Linked DNA regions of Homo sapiens: regions 1 and 2 are each linked to region 3. The links are contacts of gene promoters, found by promoter capture Hi-C in blood cells and fetal thymus (Javierre and others, 2016). All regions are on one chromosome and are shown on one strand. Each heading gives the region's core, a stretch centred on a gene start or on the middle of the fragment in contact. The rest is flanking DNA. Distances are from core to core; before and after follow the strand shown. Region 1 overlaps GOLGA1 (golgin A1). Region 2 overlaps NR6A1 (nuclear receptor subfamily 6 group A member 1). Region 3 holds the start of RABEPK (Rab9 effector protein with kelch motifs).

The links. Contacts are between HindIII fragments. The CHiCAGO score rates a contact against its expected background, and 5 or more counts as called.
Region 1: a contact is called between a fragment that was not itself captured here and the fragment with the promoter of RABEPK in region 3, in 11 of 17 cell types (M2 macrophages, total CD4 T cells, naive CD8 T cells and 8 more). The highest score is 9.7, in M2 macrophages.
Region 2: a fragment that was not itself captured here is called in contact with the fragment with the promoter of RABEPK in region 3 in 1 of 17 cell types (naive CD8 T cells); the score reaches 5.8 in naive CD8 T cells.

Annotation. Positions count from the first base shown.
Region 1 is chr9:124,928,683-124,932,584 of GRCh38, reverse strand. It overlaps GOLGA1 (golgin A1), which reads left to right. Exons shown (of 23, transcript NM_002077.4): 4 at 1,179-1,269; 5 at 3,295-3,369. Among named protein-coding and RNA genes, the nearest start is that of GOLGA1, 10 kb to the left of the region's middle. The HindIII fragment of the contact is 1,446 bases long and covers 1,895-3,340 here.
Region 2 is chr9:124,765,702-124,769,425 of GRCh38, reverse strand. All of the region lies in intron 1 of NR6A1 (nuclear receptor subfamily 6 group A member 1), which reads left to right. LOC124900274 (a long non-coding RNA gene) reads left to right here. Exons shown (of 2, transcript XR_007061773.1): 1 at 1-3,724. Among named protein-coding and RNA genes, the nearest start is that of NR6A1, 3.7 kb to the left of the region's middle. The HindIII fragment of the contact is 2,845 bases long and covers 808-3,652 here.
Region 3 is chr9:125,198,159-125,202,093 of GRCh38, reverse strand. RABEPK (Rab9 effector protein with kelch motifs) reads right to left here and starts at 1,552. Exons shown (of 8, transcript NM_005833.4): 1 at 1,188-1,552. It overlaps LOC105376271 (a long non-coding RNA gene), which reads left to right and starts at 1,698. Exons shown (of 2, transcript NR_135145.1): 1 at 1,698-1,868; 2 at 2,439-2,561. RefSeq lists a silencer at 1,625-1,674. The HindIII fragment of the contact is 9,581 bases long and covers 1-3,935 here.

The DNA of each region.
Region 1 (3,902 bases), core at 1,368-3,867, 270 kb after region 3:
TACTTAATCCTCATCACAGCTCTGTGAGGCAAATGCTGTTTGTTATCACAGATTGCAAATGAGGAAACCAGTGCACAGAGAAGTTGAGTAATGAGCCTAAGTTCTTACAGCTCGTAAGTGGTAAAGCTGCAACCTGAAGCAAGGTTTTCTGACACCAGAGACTCTCCTCTTAACTGTCCACTGTCCTGACTCTCAGTACATATTGGATGGGCAAGTGGCTGGACATGTAGATGAATATTTGAGGTGAATTATTGAATAATCTTTAAAAACATTTTGGGGATACAATGGGAAACATGATTAAGGACTGGATGTTAGTATTTTTTGTTAGGAATGATAATCATATGTTGCCTATGAAGAGAAATAGCCTTAATTTTTGGAGTATTTAGGATGAAATGCCATGATGTCTGTTATTTAAATTACTTCAGAAAAATAAAAATTGATGAAGCAAATAAGGGAAAGCATCAGCAATTGTGAAAGTAGATGGAGAGCATTATTTAGACCAATCTCTCTCCCTTTCTATATTTTGAAAAATTGTATAATGAAAAGTAAAAGAGATTTTAAAAACTGAGTTATTAGCAATTGCAAGCAGTGCCTATAGCAATAGTAGTATTCATTTATTTTAAAATAATCTGGTTTGTTGGGGAAAAATGTATGCCTCATTAATATATTGGTTTGTTGAATGCATATTATCTGCTGAAGTCTATGATGCAAGTTAGAGTTTTAGATTGATATCCGTTTGTTTCATAGATGAAGATACTGAAACTTTATCAATATCGGTGAAAGATTCGTAGTCATAGACCAGCTTTTGATCCCTAAAGAACCCCCGCCTTCTTTATCCCAGGACTTTACTTTTGGAAAGATAAAGTGATTTTTTTATCATGGCAAATATAGTTTTTGTATTATATACTTGCTGTAATAATGGATCTATTTACTATTATTTATTTCAGTAGCATGCGTACACATAAAATTGATCTGTTTAGCATCTCCTCTCTCCTTCACTTTATAAGAGGAAGAAAGCGTTGCTTCCACTTTCCAGGTAGAGAAACTAGGCCCAGCTTTTCAGTGATTACAATTAATTAAAGTGTAACCAAACCTAAAATAAGACTTGTCACTTTCTGGCTCAGTATTGTGGTCTCACACATATATGAATACGACCTTCCTTGTGTCTACCTCAACAGGCTTCCGATGGAAGCAGCTCCAGAGAAGATCTTTCATCCCAGCTTCTGAGAAGGAATGAACAGATACGGAAGTTAGAGGCCAGACTTTCTGGTATGTCTAAGAACTCATAAAAAGCAAACAACAGGAAACTTGCCTTGCTTGACTCTCTTCCTATAAAATAGCCATATAGGATGACTTTATAGTTATTTTCACATATCATTTTGATCTTTTTAGAAAGGAGCAAGTATACCCTCTTCTTTTGTTAGTGTAGTAAATAGTATAAATTCAAAACTGAATTTGAAAGTTTATTAAAAAATTTTTTCTGCTCCTGAGGTTTCTAGCCATGGAAATAAAAGATAATAATAATATATGTACAATAGATTTGACCATCTTCCACCATTAGCATAGCCTGCTTTCAGGTGGAAAGGGATGGCGTTAGTATTTAAAGGGAATGGCCAACAGATATTGGATTCATCAGCACCAGAGATTGGTGCTGTGTTGCCACTTCCTGCAGCTCATACCACCTGTGTAAGTGTTGTTGTAGGTCTTTGGGCCACTTTTCAATGGTATTTCTGACTTCAGCACCTGCATAGAAGGTGTCACTCTCATTATGTCTTTTGTCTGCAGTTTACAATTTACACAGCTCCCATTATATCCTTTGCCTGAGGAGGGCATGGTCATGATAGAATTGTGAGTTATTATTTTGGTTTCTGCCAGTGGATACATTTGGAAAGCTTCATCCTGTAAAGTGGTTCATGGCTTCTGTGTCTCTTTTTGTCCCTTGGCCTTTTAATGCCCATTTTATTGGAGTAAAACAGCAGACCGAAGTTCACCAAGTGGTATGTGAAATATTTATATTTGTGTAGCTATCAGACCCAAATTCACCAAATTGTATGTGAAGTATTTGTATTTATGTAGTTATCAAAGGTTCATAGCATAGCTCACAACTACCAGTTAATTATTTTGTCCTCACTAGAGCCTTATTAGGCTTAGCAAGGTTAAGGCCTCACAAGTAGTAAGTGGTAGAGCTGGGATCCAAACCCAGATTTATTTGATGCTAGAGTCTTAATTCCATCTGCCTTAAACTTAATTGTTGCTATCCTGTTACTCCTACCCATAAATAATATCAGTAACAGAGGTAAAGTAATTTTACATTTGTTTAATGTTGGAGAGAGAGTTATAAAATAATATATATACCTTCCCCATATGGTAGGAAGAATAGTTGAGCTTGACTTACGTTAGAGAAGGGACAGGGAAGAGCACTGACATTTACTGGGCCCACTATGTGGTGAGTATTGTCCTACAGTATTAGTATGAGTAATGATAATAGTCACAGTAACAATAAGAGCTACATTTTATTGAGCACTGTGTGCAAAGCACTTAAGGCACGTAAAATGTTTTATCTAATGCATCTTTTGTGGTAGGTACAATTAATATCATCATTTAATATATGAAGAAACTAATACTACAGGACCAATAATTTGCTTAAGGTCCCCAGCTAAGGACTGACAGAGTTGGGATTTGAGCTACTATGTTTTCACTAAACCATAACTATCTTCTTTGGCCACCTAGATAATTAATTCTGACATTCACATTTAATGTAGCGTAGGTTACCAAGTTCCTGTGTAGAAAGGGAGCTCACTTTTTTAGAGAATTAAGTGCTATCACTATAAAGACAATGCTGCACCTAAGGTGTTTGTTATTGCCCTAACTACTGTTCCTGAGTTGTGTGGACTATAAGCGAGCTGTTTAGTGAGTTCACTTTGATCTATCCTACTGCTAAGACCGGAAAAGGAAGTGGAAACTGAGATTTGAAATTAAGTCATGAGATAAATCTGTGTTTTTCATAGCAGGACATTTCTGATCACCAGGCTAAGCCTAATTCTTGTTTTTCTATCAAGGCTAAACAAACTTGCCTTTTTGTACTCACCATTTATACACCATGGATAGTTTGTACTATACTTGTTTTCCTGTGTTGTTCATTGTTAATGGGAGGCTGTCTGTCTAGCTTTCCTTAACAGGAATGGTTTTCAGGTTAAGAAAATCATCATCATTTCCATTCATTTTTTTGTTTAATTAACTTCCTTTCCTGATGTTTGTCCATTTCTGGTATGTGCGTCACCCTCCTCACCCAAGACTATGCTGAACAGGTCCGAAACTTGCAGAAGATAAAAGAGAAGCTTGAAATTGCATTAGAAAAACACCAGGATTGTACGTATTTTTTTCCTGCTTTTTTCAATCTTTTCAAGGTTTAGTTTTTGAAATGAAACAATAGTGTATGGTTAAGTTTGTCCTTCTTCAAAGCACAAATCTTTATTTTATAAGTAGTGTACTTCTTAATCAGGTTGATATAACATTTGGATGATATTTATAAGTATGCAAGTTTTATTTATGTTGGCTTATGGGCATGACTCTTAGGAGTAGGTCATTATGTGTATCAGCTTGTCTCTATCCAGTTGACCCCTTTATTTAGGCTACCCTCAGGTTTTAATAAAATCTAGTACCCATCCCTTAGGTCTGGATTAGGAAATGGGTTCTCACCACAGCTTCATTACTGCTGTGTTGAGTAACTGGGAGAAATCCCTGTCATCACTCCCTCAGCAATAAATCATACATTTTGTGTAGTCTACCCTCAATCATATATTCTTTGGGTACCATCCAAGAAAGATGTTAGTAGAAGTAGAAAGTTATTTTTTTTGTTGATATGTACTAAAACTTTTAAGGAAAATAAAGTAAAAGAAAGG
Region 2 (3,724 bases), core at 981-3,480, 430 kb after region 3:
GATCCGTGCCTTCATACGTTTATTAACTAGTCAAACATTTTGTTAGTTCAGGAGATCTGGTGTTTTTTACAAAAGGGAAAAGTCCGTGTAGAAGAGAGCTTGGTTAACTTCACTTGATGTTGCTGATCTTAAAAATAATGATGTGTTTTCAGAGCTCTTTTTTTTTTTTTTTTAATTTGTGTATGATGTATGATGGCTAGGTGGCTGGCCGTTCCGTGGGCTGTCGTTGGCAACTAATTTCTGAATGTGAACATGTTTGAGATCAATAAAATTCCGTGTCACAAAGGGGGAAGCTGGAATCCAGTTAGGGTAGAAGGAGACAGTATAATAGGAACAAAGGATTTCTTTAATGCCTTTGACTTTTTAAGCTAGTTTGTGTGGAGATTTGGTTTGGTATTAATTTGTGAGTGTTGTAAATCCTGATCTAAATTTTCCCATGCTGATTTTTTTGAATCCAAACCCCAACCTATCTTATATCCCATATTAGCGTGTATATTTCTGTGATGCCTTCCTATGTGTGAATACTTCCTGTACCCACCTGTGCATATAATGTAGATGACGGATTTTACTGCAATTCAATATTTACTGCAATATTGCTTTCAATTCTACTTGAGAATAATAGTGTTGTAAGAGAAACCTAAGAACTGCATTTGTTATTAATTATTCATTAGTACATTTTAAAGAACTCAATGGTAATTTTAACTCTTAATCAGATTTCCCATTCATAGTCTCATTTCCTCAATTGGTCAGAACCATTTGAAAGAATGTTATCGAGCAATCCATTTAGACTAAGGTGGCTTTAAAGCTTTACATTAGTCTAAGTTAGTGGTACAGATGTTTTCTTTTTGCTGAAAATACAATGGGAACTTTTGGCAGCTTGATGGGCTTAAAATACACTAGACGCTAGACCGTTGTGGGATATTTTTCAGTGTAAAAACTAGCATTGTGCAATGTTTTACAATTTATGTTCATTAGCACTTATGAAGTTAACATGCTCACAGAAGAATTGCCAAAAATTTTTTTAAGTTTGCCTATGGAACAATGGGCACATTTTTTCTTTTTTGCTTCCTAATTAATATTTTTCTCCAAAAATATATGAAACTGCTTGTTCTGAGTAGAAAAGAAATGAATTATCTGTTTTTTACTCCTAGTGACTGATTTCTATTTTATATGAACTATTTTCAAGAGACAACTATACAGATAGGGGGTCTTTTGGTCTCTGTCATGAAGAAATAAACTGGAGGTGGCATTTTAGAAATGTTTTCCTACCGGAAACACCATTGATGCTGAATTTACAGTCCTTTGAATGGTTTTTATTCTGTCAGAACAGAGTTTCTTTCTAGCCTTTTGATGCACCATCATCCTTCCAGGAATTCCCTGTGCTGACTGCGCTATTTTCAGTTGTTGCTTGTAGGTTTTCATAACAAACATGAACTCATTTAGTTGTAATAGAGGACTGCTCCCTTTTGGGATTTCAAAGGAAGATGAATGATTTGAGGAAGTGTATGCTGAATATTGCATTTGTTCATTTTAAGAGAATGAGGGAATATACTTTTAAATATTTAAAGCAAAGGAAGGCAAAGGAAGGTTATAAGCCATTATAAGTAATTAAAAGCATATTTTATGTAATTACACTTTAGAGGAAATGGGGAGAAGTTCACTGAATAGCACGGTGCCTTTTTCTTCTGCTATAACCATGCCGTCCAAATGTTTATGCTGGAAAATAAATTGGCAAATATTTCCCATGATGATTTAACTTTTCAGTTCTGTGATTTAAAAAATTAAGTTAATTCTGAGTTGCCCCAGAATTTTTTCCTACTCCCATTAGAAAAAAACAAAACCAAAAACATGCTGTAGTACTGTTGTTTCTTAGTACATACAGCACGCAGGTTTTTCTTTTTTTTTTTTTTTTCTTTTTTTGTAGCTTCTGTGACCTCCAAAGACGGCTAGGGTAGAAGAAAGGCGACAGTGAGCAAATTCACTGGTGATTTTGCATAGCTGAGGTGGGAGATGACCACATTTACAGTCTCCAGTGTACAAGCCACCAAATCATTCAGCAGTTCTGATTCATGTAACCAAAATATGATGACATGATTCCTAATCTATAATTCATTCTGACTTCCGTAGCAAAAAGGTGTATGCAAGGCACATGTGTTAGTACATGAAAGGGAGTTGGATGGGGAGCTAATGAAAAAAATAACTGCTGGTAAATTTCCAAAAATATGTCCAAATCATGCATTTCCATATTTTATTTAGAATTTTCTGGTTTCTCATTCCCTACTTTTTTCCTAGGGTTTTGGGGCAAAGGTGGAAAATAGAGTTTAGATTAAAATACCACATTTTAGAATAGTAGAGGATGGTAGGTAGAAATGCCAACTGTTGCTGTAACATTGGTAGAGGAAGTTTCTTATACCACCCCTAGTGTTTGTTGTGCAAGTTGGCTTTAAATTGCTAATGATGCTTGCATGTTTTGGAGCTTGGAGCTGTGTTTCATTTGTGTTAGTGGGAAGATTTACCACTTCATTTTTATAATTGGGTAGATATTATTTATTGGTTATGTTGAAAAATTGGTTTGTTAATGAATTGTGTTCAGATGGCAACTTCTAGCTTAAGAATTGCATAAAGCCAGGATAGATTCTCCCACATTAGGAGACTTCATTGTCAGCAAATTCATCGAGATCTTTGGGGCTGGTCATAATCTTTGCTTCTTAAGTTTATTTTTGATTTATAGCCAAATTAATGACACTTTTCTGTTCAGTATTTTTCCATGCATAATAATTAAGTTGAAAGTGACACTTGAGAAGATGTGTTTTAGAGTAAATTTTACATTGTTGGGTCAGTCTGTTTTTTTTAAGTAGGACAGTAAAAGTGCCTTATTTCATGTGTAAAAACAGATTCTAGTCATGTGGGAAAAAGGTCAGAATTAGAAAAATCAAAGTTCTGAATCAACAGATAAACACGCTTGTATTTCAATAAAGAATAAATGTGCTTGAAACAGTTTTTAACAGAAGGTAGCTATCTAATCTGCCCACATAAGTAGTGATCTGATATACCCAACTCTTTGTAATACTTTGAGAGCATTTCCAAAACCAATTAAGTTGTGAAGGAAAATGTTTTTCACACTTCTGCATTAAGATCAACCTTAACTTTTTAATTAAAGTTTTTTCCTGGCTCAGGTAATTTCTTAAGGGTTTATGGATGCCTTCGATAACTAGGGTTCAGAAATACCAGAATTATTAAAAATGAGCAAGAAAGTGGTTTGGTACTGAGCAGGTAATTCTTTCTTGGGTATTGAGCTTTTTAGAGCTTAAGTTTCAGATTCAGCTGAGCTTAAATTTAAAAAACGTCTCTAGATGTAACTTTGATATACAGTATTTCTAGAATCCAGCCCAGTCTTTTGTTCATTGATTGTTTTCCAACATGGCTTGTCTTTAAGAAAAAGACAAGGGTGTTAGACTGTAACACCCTTAGTAAGTAATAGAAAATCAGAAGAAAACCACTGTGAGATGTCTAACCTGTTTTTCAGTATGGCGGAGAAATAGCCACAGGAAAAAGAGGAGAGCATCATTTGAAAGAATAAAACATTTCCTACGGTATTTCGTTCTTCATTCTTTGTTACCTGCTATTAAACAGCAGCCTTTGTAGAAAAGCTTCTCAAAAAAACCCAGAGTTTTTTCAGTGGTTACAGTTATTTAAATAAGACTTTACTAGTGTAACCCGGTAA
Region 3 (3,935 bases), core at 303-2,802:
TACAGGCAAGTGCCACCACACCTGGCTAATTTTTTTTGTATTTTTCGTAGGGATGGGGTTTCACTATGTTCGCCAGGCTGGTCTTGAACTTGGCTCGCCTCGGCCTCCCAAAGTGCTGGGATTACAGGCGTGAGCCACTGAGCCCGGCCATTTATTTATTTTTTAATTAAAAATAGAAACGGGGCTGGGAGCAGTGGCTCACGCCTGTAATCCCAGCACTTTGGGAGGCCGAGGCAGGCGGATCATGAGGTCAGATCGATACCATCCTGGCCAACATGGTGAAACCCTGTCTTTACTAAAAATACAAAAAAAATTAGCTGGGCGTTGTGGCCCACGCCTGTAGTCCCAGCTACTCAGGAGGCTGAGGCGTGAGAATTGCTTGAACCCAAGAGGCGGAGGTTGCAGTGAGCCGAAATTGCGCCACTTGCACTCCAGCCTGGCGACAGAGCAAGACTCCTCCTCAAAAAAAGAAAAAAAAATAGAAATGGAGGTTTCGCTTTGTTGTCCAGGCTGGTCTCGAACTCCTAGCCTCAGGCAATTCTTCCACCTCAGCCTCCTAAAAAGCTGGGATTACAGGTGTGAGCCACTGCTCTCCGCTCAAAGGACAAAATATTTAAAGAAGCTGAGAAATACTGAGCTCTGGGATAAATCTTGGCCTCAACATAGCATAGAAAGTAAGGCCTTCTGCTGTTGAGCTTTTTTCCCGTGAACTCACCTCCACAATCTCTTGCATTATTGGTTTTTTTGCTGTTCTTGTAATATGGCAGGCCTTTTCATAATTTTGCAGCCTGTTCTGCTTCCCCTATTTGGAATGTCGCTTCCCTTCTGGGAAATTTGCAAACTCCTAGTTAACCTTCAAAGCCCAGTTCAAAAGTCCCTTCCCTGGTGAAACCTTCCCTGATTTGCCCTTTTCTCTTCCACCCACATCCAAGTTACTTCCTTCTTCCACCCACTGGGCTCTGAAGGTATTAGCCATCACCATTGCAGGAATCATTTGGAATGTTTATCTATTTAAGGCTTCTAGACTAGATTCTAGATTAAATTCCACTAGACTAAGTTCCTAGAGGGCTGGGCCTGTCAGATCCATTCCGAGAACCTACCAATGGACCTGGCATGGAGTAGAAGTGGGGGAGTGGCTAGTGAATGAAGAAAGAAAATAGATTGAGAGATGAATGGATAAATCTCACCTGCGGCCTAGGCCACTGACAGCTGTCCCCAAAGTCCAGAGCTCAGTTAGGCTGGCTTCACGTGGGCGGGACCTCCCGCAGCAGCCGCCGCTACCAGCCCAGCAAATCTCATCCCCACGTGGCAGTTCTAGGGGATAGGAGACGGGGTCGGGAAAGAACAGGCTGATTCGGTCAAAGTGGCCGGGACGGAGCCAGGGAAGGCCCTTCCCCGTTCTTTGCACCCGGCTTGGGCCCACTCCCCTAAAAGATTCAGACTCCCTGCCCGAGACCGTGATAGACCCGGTATCCGGGGACCCTCGCCCCTACCCTCCAGCCCCGGACTGCAATACCTGCGGCGACTTAGGCCAGTCGCGAGCCGTGACTCCACCCCGGAGGGGCGGGGCTTAGGTCCGGGCCCTCCTCCCAGGACCCGGAAGAGCGTCCGGGCCAACCGCTCCCTCTTCCCTGCTCCGCCCCGAGGGCCCGGCGCTGACTTCCTGGGCTGGCGGTGGAGGGGTCCCCCAGACCGGGAGTGGACGCCAGGCTCTGCATTTCTCGGGAACCAAGTGGGGTGGGCCTTCCCTGGGTCCCTCCCTCCCGGACGGGATAAATAAGCCGGGGCTACTTGGAAACGATTTGCGCAATGCCGGGTTCGGGCGTCCGTTTGGGGAACTCAGATGCCTGCGGCAGCTGATCTACTCTGTAAGGGGCTAACAGGGCTGGGCGCCACCACACTCCAGCTTGGGCAACAGCGCAAAAACTCCCTCTCAAAAAAATAAATAAATAAAAGGGGGGGAGGGTATAACAGTTACATTTCCAGTTACAACGATTGTTTTTTTTTTTTTTTTTTGAGACGGAGTCTCGCTCTGTCGCCCAGGCGGGACTGCGGACTGCAGTGGCGCAATCTCGGCTCACTGCAAGCTCCGCTTCCCGGGTTCACGCCATTCTCCTGCCTCAGCCTCCCGAGTAGCTGGGACTACAGGCGCCCGCCACCGCGCCCGGCTAATTTTTTTTGTATTTTTAGTAGAGACGGGGTTTCACCTTGTTAGCCAGGATGGTCTCGATCTCCTGACCTCATGATCCACCCGCCTCGGCCTCCCAAAGTGCTGGGATTACAGGCGTGAGCCACCGCGCCCGGCCACAACGATTGTTAACAGTTTCTAAAGGGGAGAGTTGAGCATGCAATCCTCCTGCGCAGTCTTCGGGCCAGCTCAAGATTTGGTGCTTTAAACAGCTGATTCATTCCATAATTGCCATTTGTAATTATGGCAGGTGCTATGCTGAGCCAGACACCACCACGCTTTGCCTCCAGGAGCAAGTCTTAACTAGAGAGAGATCAAAGAAAAAGACAACTAGGGACGACTGCCAAGAGTGCAATAAATATAAAGTTCAGCCAGGAGAGTATCTGTTCTGAAGTTACTTTCCTCCAGGCCTCAGGGTTGTCTGTTTGTAACCATGGAGCTAATAAGATTTCTATCATAGGCTGGGCGCGGTGGCTCACGCCTATAAGTCCAGCACTTTGGGAGGCCGAGGCGGGCGGATCACGAGGTCAGGAGTTCGAGACCAGCCTGGCCTACATGGTGAACGCCCCCGCCCCCCCCCCCAACTAAAAACACAAAAATTAGCTAGGCGTGGTGGTGGGCGCCTGTAATCCCTGCTACTCAGGAGGCTGAGGCAGGAAAATTGCTTGAATCTGGGAGGCGGAGGTTGCAGTGAGCCGAGATAGTGCCACTGCACTCCAGCCTGGGTGACAGAGCCAGACTCCGTCTCAAGAAAAAAAAAAAAAAAAGAGAGATGTATGTAGTAGTTGTGGTGGGGAATACATGACATAATGTAAATAAAAGTGCTCAGCACCCAGCAGCTGGCACAGAGTTCTCTGTCAAGGGTAAAGCTATTCCTGACTATAAATGAACAATGTCTCTAGACATATTCAGAATCTACATTATCTTTGTTTTAGTTCATAACCATAGGTTCTCTGTGTCTTTCCTGAAAATAGAGAGGTGGCTTGCTCTCTTATGTCTGTTTCAAAGAACTCCAGTCTCTGAAACTGTCGCTGTGTCCTAGAAAATAGAGAAAACAGCTCAGGTTAGAAACAGGAGCTCCTGGAGTATAGAGCTATGGTAGCTTAGTGGGAAGAGATCAAACATACTTGGGTTAAAATCCAAGCTCCAGGCTGGGTGTGGTGGCTCATGCCTGTAATCCCAGCACTATGGGAGGCCAAGGAGGGCAGATCACGAGGTCAGGAGTTCAAGACCAGCCTGGCCAACATAGTGAAACCCCATCTCTACTAAAAATACAAAAATTAGCCAGGCACGGTGATGCGCACCTATAGTCCCAGCTACTCGGGAGGCTGAGGCAGGAGAATTGCTTGAATCGGGAGGCAGAGGTTGTGGTGAGCCAAGATCATGCCACTGCACTCCAGCTTGGGCAACAGAGCAAGACTCTGTCTAAAAAAAAATCAGCCAGGCGTTTGCCTGTAATCCCAGCTACTCAGGAGGCTGAGGCAGAAGAATCACTTGAACCCAGGAGGTGGAGGTTGCAGTGAGCCGAGATCGTGCCACTGCACTCCAGCCGGGGCAACAGAGCAAGACTCTGTCAAAAAAAAAAAATCCAGGGTCCAGCACTAACCATCTAACTCTGACATTTGGCAAGTTACCCACTCTGAACCCTAGTTCCTCATCTATAGAATGATGATAGTATTACCTGCTGTGCAGACAGAACTGTTCAGAGGATGTGCTAATACAGGTGAAAGGCCAGGTTGGTGAAAGG